2 separate regions of the Homo sapiens genome follow, and region 2 is linked to region 1. The links are contacts of gene promoters, found by promoter capture Hi-C in human tissues and cell types (Jung and others, 2019). All regions are on one chromosome and are shown on one strand. The core of a region is centred on a gene start or on the middle of the fragment in contact, and the rest is flanking DNA. Distances in the headings are between cores, read along the strand shown. Region 1 holds the start of YPEL2 (yippee like 2). Region 2 overlaps YPEL2 (yippee like 2).

Evidence for each region. The method cuts DNA at HindIII sites, captures the fragments that hold promoters and counts their contacts. A contact is called where the count stands out against the background at its distance.
Region 2: a fragment that was not itself captured here is called in contact with the fragment with the promoter of YPEL2 in region 1 in 2 of the 25 tissues and cell types used here (lymphoblastoid cells and spleen).

Annotation. Positions count from the first base shown.
Region 1 is chr17:59,329,826-59,333,226 of GRCh38, reverse strand. It overlaps YPEL2 (yippee like 2), which reads right to left and starts at 1,572. Exons shown (of 5, transcript NM_001005404.4): 1 at 1,403-1,572. RefSeq lists an enhancer at 515-1,076 and a silencer at 1,287-1,806. The HindIII fragment of the contact is 13,001 bases long and covers 108-3,401 here.
Region 2 is chr17:59,386,136-59,389,536 of GRCh38, reverse strand. YPEL2 (yippee like 2) reads right to left here. Exons shown (of 5, transcript NM_001005404.4): 3 at 1,167-1,210; 4 at 69-177. Among named protein-coding and RNA genes, the nearest start is that of MIR4729, 22 kb to the right of the region's middle. The HindIII fragment of the contact is 8,502 bases long and covers 1-3,401 here.

The sequences.
Region 1 (3,401 bases), core at 323-2,822:
GCCTGTTTCTGGGGAAAAGAACTTGCAGCCACTCAAAACACAGTTTAGAAGAATGAAAATGTTCCTCACCGGAGGCAAGACTCAGCCATTCATAGGCCCTGTGGCCCCCAGAGGCAGGAAAGCACGGGGGAGCAATAACCATGTGAAATCAAGTCCCACCCCAGAGCCAGTGAGGCGGTTTACTGAACTTCTTGCATCTTTAATGCTCTGTGAGGCACAGGGAAGCTGACCGCTACCCTTCTTGCCCAATGCTTTGGAACAAGGAAGAACAAGGAAGGAAGGGCAGGGAGGAAAAGACAGCTGTCTCGTTAGCCTTCAGATTCACCAAAGGCAAGGACTCACTCAAGAGCCTCCCAAGTTGCAAGGACAGCAAATCAGCAAGGAGGCCAGAAAGCAAAAACCCCAGCAAAGCTTCGGAGCAGTTCTCTGGGGCCTTTCACAGCGGCGGGACTGGGGGGCGGGCGAGGGTGCAGCTCCGCTCCAAGCGGAGGAAAACAAGACACTCGCTCACCTGGCTTTTTAAACTCTCGCAGCTAAGACTGAAGGCAGAGGTAGCAATCTTCCGGACAAGAAGTCCAGAAGAACAGGTGTCCCCCACCCCCGCACGCCCCCAAGACCGGAGAAAAGCCCACCACTCCGGGAAAGACACCAGAGGAGGTCGGCGGCCAAGCAGGGTGAACTGGAAGTGGCGAAAGGTCGGGGCCGCCCCTAAGCGCCAGCTCCGGGGAGGCGCTCGCGGCAGAGGCTCCCGCGTTCCGTCGGGCAGGACCTCGCGCCCACCCCCTTGGCAAGGACACCGGGGAGGCGCCGAGACGCGGCCAGGGAGGAACTCGGCTGCGGTTACCTCGACCCGGGTCGGGGCAGACGACGCGCTCCGAGAAATTTCGAGGGCGCCCAGTCCCACAGTGGAAGGCCCCCAGGGCGGCGCCCCTGGACCTAAGTGTCCCCAGGACTCTCCGAGGGAAACGCGGCGTCACGAGAGGACGGAGGGCGTCCCCAGCCCCACCCGGACCCCATGGAGTCCGAACCCATGGGGACGACGCGGAGGAGGAAGCGGCGATTCCAGCTCCGCACCCCCGCCCCAAACCTGGCCCCGCAGACTCGCCCAGCCCCTGGCGCGCGTCTCCCGCCCCGGCCGGGGGTCCCGCGCCCTTGGGCTCCCTCCGCGAGCGGCCGCGGGCCCGGCAGTGTTTGTAAACAAACCGGTCACGTGGCCCGGCGGCCGCTCCCCGTCCCCGGCGCCCACGGGGACCCCACGCGGAACCGAGGGCGCCGCACCCCCAACCCCGCGCAGGCCCGGCCGGGGGAGTCCGGAGGCCGGGGCCGGGGACCCAGAGCCCGAGCTGACAGCGCGCCCCACGCCCACGCGCGCCCGGCCCGCGCCGCACTCCGGTGCACTTACCCGGCGACAGGCGGCCCTGTCCGGCCAGCGTGGGGCTTGGCTCCGCTGGGGTGCGCAGCGGCGAAGCGCGGCCCGGCTGGGGCTCGGGCTCCCGGCACGCTCTTAAAGCCACAGTCTCCGCCACCGCCGCGGCCGCCACTCCGCATCCCTCCGGGTCCGGGCCGGGGGCTACCCCGTGATGGACGCGCCCCCGCACCTATCCCCTCGGCTCAGCACATAGCAACACGCCGCGGGTTGGCCGGGCGCAGCCGCAGCCCATCCGCGCAGAGCCAATCATCAGAGGACGGAACTCCGCCCCCCGCTTCCCCGACCGCCCACTCCCCCACCCCTCGGCCCGGCCCAGCCTGGGCTAGGGGAGAGCGGCTGGTTAGGGTCCCGCCCGTCCCGGCAACTTGCCGGAGGGCAGGGACCCAGAGTGCCAAAGCTGGGTGGGCTCTCAGCGCCTAGGAGGAGGCCGTTTATTTGAGTTTGGGGTTTGTCCCCAGGGCAGGGCTGGGATTCCCAGAACCTGGGTTGTATTTTGGGGCGGGGGGATTTGCAGTGCATCTCCCTGGAGGCTCAAGATAGTCATTCCTTTCTTACGTTTTAAACCTCGCCCTAAGCCATAGCCTAAGTTACCAGAAGTGGCCCTCAGGCCCCGGGTAATTGAATTTAAAATGATAGGGGGGAGGGGGGAGGGATAGCATTAGGAGATACACCTAATGCTAAATGACGAGTTAATGGGTGCAGCACACCAACATGGCACATGTATACATATGTAACAAACCTGCACATTGTGCACATGTACCCTAAAACTTAAAGTATAATAATAATAAAATTAAAAGAAAATGATAGTGCTAGTTGCACCCAGCCCACCCATGCCTTGCTCAGAAGCCAGGCATTTCCCCTCTTCTCTCTGCCCTGCTAGTAATTTCGGCGAATTAAAAGTACGAAAGGGGCTTAGTGGAATTGAAGACCGCCCCATTGCTGCTAATTTTCCATGACTTTCAGAGGCAGATGACGGTAATTAGAGTGGGATGGTCCGAGTGACCAGAGGGGAGGAGTCCACGTTCTGGGTCACCGGGGTGGTGCTTTTCAAGGAAGAGCAGGTTAAAAAATAACCTCGTGGCAGTCAGGAAACCAGGGAGGCACCAGGTGGGTGGAGTGGGGCAGTTTCCCAGCAGGAAAACAGGACAGTTTGATAAAGAATGTTGGCACGGACAAGGTGAACAAAGCAGGTCCTGCCTTTCGCTCAAGACACTGGGGTTCCGCAGTTCCTCTGGGAACTCTTCCTCCAAGGAAACTAGTGTTTTACTGTGCAGCCATCAGGATGTGAGGTGCTGCAGGAGGTGCAGCTGACTCTCCGCCTTCCACACACTGGTTTGCACGTACACCCAGAATGCTGGCTCACCTGCATCTCCACCCAGCTGTTTTTAAAATATGCTTGGTCAACCAAATTGTATTCAGTTAATATCTATTGCATGTGAATCCAGTCACCAAGGTTAGTAAAAACAACAAAACACCCCAAATACCTCAGTATTGTGGGGCTGACATATCAGCCTCAGATTTGCAGTTTCAGTGTAAACAAAGGCTATGTCCTGGTTCACAACTGACTAGTTTGGAGAGTCTAAAACGGGGGGGGGGGGGGAATGCTTTCAGATGAGAGGAATCACAAACAAGAACTGTTTAGCATTTAATCCTTAATCTAAGATGTGATGGATTCTTTAGATTAGTAAGAGCTTGCCGTCTCGCCCTGATCTGCTTCTTGAGCAAGTTTCTTTGTCTCTCCAGGCCTAGGTTTCCACAGTTTAAAACAAGGAGGGTTGAAATAGGATGATCTCAAGTCCCTTCCAGCTCTGAAATTCTAAGTAGGGCCAGAAAGTCATGTTTGTTACAACGTTTCCGCAATATTGTGTGAGCGAATATTTGTGTTGCCACATCACCACTTCCTAACAGTAGATGCTGAATTAGTTTAACACCCTAGGATATTGGTATGTTATGTAACAAGACTGGTGGCTAC
Region 2 (3,401 bases), core at 453-2,952, 56 kb before region 1:
GTGTTCTGGCATAAGGCTCTTGGCAATTCCCTTCCAGCCCTCTACCAACCAAACTCCTTTATACTTACGTATTTCCAGCCCAGAGTGGTTTTGCAGTTTTCACAGTAAATGTCTGCGACTGCATGCAGTCCTGTTAGCAACACTCGCTCTTCTGCAGGCCCACAGCCCACATTAACTCTATGTCGAGGCACAAGAAGAGAGAGTGGGTAGTTAGTGACACGCACATCAGGCATTCAAGCTGAGCTTCCAGCAAAAATTAACTGGGAAAGGCTGTCCCAAGGGGAGCCAACCCTGAGCTGAGCAGATCTAAACCAATCCCCAAAAGGTGGCCACAGGGAAATATCTCAGCTGGAAGGAAATTCAGATCTGCAAGTTCTAGTGGAGTGGGTCTACCGAAATAATCTTTATGGTTGAGAGTTTGCTTAAAATTTTAATTTTTCTAACAAATACTTTAAATCTGTGACTTAGGGGGACAAGCTGACAGCCACACTGTGAAGTCCACAGCCATGGGCACAGGTCCTCACAGCTTACTGAGGACTGAATGAAGCTGAAGATGCCACACATGATAGCACAGTGTGGTCCTGATACAGGAATGAGTGATCCCTGGGTGCTGAATAGGCTCTACTCCTTCACAGGGTGCCCAGCTCAAGCCACAGGCCAGATTTTCATTTTTACAGTTTATCAGGCTTATGTAGGCTTCACCTTCCCTTCCCAGGGAAGAGGTGATAAACCTGGTGCCTGGGGATGGCTGAGTGCCCTGGAAACTGTGCATCTGCCCGAAGTGGGCCTTCCTTCCTCCTTAGGTCCCGCAGCAGATCTTGGTGTCTTTTTCACCCATATTCTCTTCCCCAGTGACAAATCTCAGATCTCATTATGAGCCCTTCAGGTTGAGGCTCTCAGAATCTCCTCAGCTTCTTCCCTGTGGGACTACAGTCCTCTGGTGTGCCCTCTGAGGGGAATGTAGTGAATATATTATTTTTAGCCAGAGATGTTGGCAAGAAATGTTCCCCAAAGGTAACTGACTACCAATTGTGGACAGTAATGCTCCACAGAGTTTTACTGTGGCAGACAGGGCAGGGTTCATTGTTTAATTATCACCAAGGATTGCTTTTTCCCATCCCTCGAATCTGTACCCCACAAGGAATGTACCATTCAGAGGCACTCACACTGAGTTAAAGAGGTATGCTCGTCCTTGACTTCCTTGGAATGACTGAAATGCAAGAAAACAAATCGATAGTTAGACATCCATTTCACCTATCTGTTTGGGAAACCAACCCCAATCACAGTTAAGCATGACCTTCCAGGACTGACACAGCAAAAGGGAGTACTGAGCCAGTTAACGGTCCCGCTGGCAGATGGTGTGGGGGCGGAGAAGAGGGCGGAATTAACAGAGCCACAAAGCTCGATCTGGCCCACCGGACTGTTTTCACTAGCCCAGGTGAGAAAATGAAAAAAACCCAAAACCACTATGTCATTAAAAACTTCTTCCCTCCTGACATTGCCTGATGTAATTAATTCACCTGAGATCATTAATCCGCATTGGCGTTTCCTGGTCCCACCTGATTTCAGCCATCTGTGCTGGCCACAGCTTTCCCAGGCTGGCCCAGGCATGGAAACCACCACAAGCTCCTTCGCTTGGCCTCTTGGTCCAGCTCTACCAAAGGCAGCAAAAAAATCCCTGACCCAAGAAAAAACTATCCAACCCACACTTATCGCTTGTCATGCCTTCTAGAAGATCCTAAGTGCCATGACAGTTTACAATCCTAAATGGGAGCACAGGAGCTCTTTTGAGATGTAAGCAACTTGATCTCTGCATCACAGAAATGCTCATGAAGCAGCAATTCCACTTTAACCTCTAGCTTACATATTAGTTTCTTTCTTTTGGCTGGAGGGCGGCAGGGAACAGGAGAAACAGGAGCCAGAGCCTGCCATGCAATCTGGCGTCTGCTTCCATTAACACGGGCCCTGTCCATGTTTTCCTTCTCTGGTTACACTGAGAAGTCGGCCTGACATGAGCCAGCCATGTTCTGCACTGCCGCCTGCATTTTTAATGTGGTCTAACAACAGTGTCCTGAATTTAGTATCTTAGTCTGCTCTGAAAACCAACCAACAAACAAGGAGATGAGTGGCTAACAGATGACCAGAGGGTAGGTGAGCACCAGATAGGACTCAGATCAGCACGCGAGACAATCATTTTTGTCAGATGTGCAGGACGTCAGGGATCAGTGCTGCCAGCCAGTGTGAAAGACAAAATTCTTTTTTTTTTTTTTTTTTTTTTTAGATGGAGTCTTGCTCTGTCATCCAGACCAGAGTGCAGTTGCGCGATCTTGGCTCACTGCACCTCCATCTCCTGAGTTCAAGCGAGTGTCCTGCCTCCGCCTCCTGAGTAGCTGGGACCACAGGTGTGCACCACAACACCCGGCTAATTTTTGTATTTTTAGTAGAGACAGGGTTTCACCATGTTGGCCAGACTGGTCTTCAACTCCTGACCTTGGTGATCCACCCGCCTCGGCCTCCCAAAGTACTGGGATTACAGGTGTGAGCCACCACACCCAGCCAACAAACTTCTTTACTTGTGGAAAAACTGCCTCTGGGGCAGCTGGATTGTTGGTTGCCTCCAACATTCAAATACACCAGACACCTTCACTCCCAGGTGCATCTGCAAGGGGCAGGCAGATATTCCCCAGCTGGTGCCCAGACCCAAACCAATTCTCTCCTTTTTGGGGTCTTGAAACATCCCTGGGGAATATAGCAGCTTCCAGGCTACAACTGAGCAGCTATGAGTGTCAAAGCCTCAAAACCTGGAACCTGGAAGTCCATGCTGAGTGTTTGGATAAGACAATGTCCCAGCGACACAGGTCTAGACCTGGCCACACTGTTCAATCCTGGAGCACAAACACCACTCCAGGGCTTCATGACCTGGCCATGCCACCTCTCCTGCCTCTTCTCTTGCTACCTCCCCATTATGTCCTTCACTCCAGTCAGGCCAAACCACAGGCAATTCCTGGAAGTTGCATTGCACTAACTTTGCCCATGAAGTTCCCTCTGATGGGGAGGCTCTTCCACCTGACCCAATAAGCCTCAGCTCAGCTCCCCTCTTTCATTAAGCTTTCCCTAAACTCCCCAGAAAAAGGCACCCAATGATACTCATGTTCTAGACTCTTCATGTTCCCTGCATTTCCTTTTTCTTTCTTTCCTTTTTTTTTTCCCCCAAGAGAGTCCCACTCTGTCACCCAGGCTGGAGTGCAGTGGTGTGACCATGACTCACTGTAGCCTCCACCTTCTGGGCTCAAGCGATCCTCCTGCCTGAGCCTCCAGAGTAACTGGGACCACAGGTGCATACCACCATAACCAGCTATTTAAAAAAAAAAAAATTTATAGAGACAGGGTCTTGCCATGTT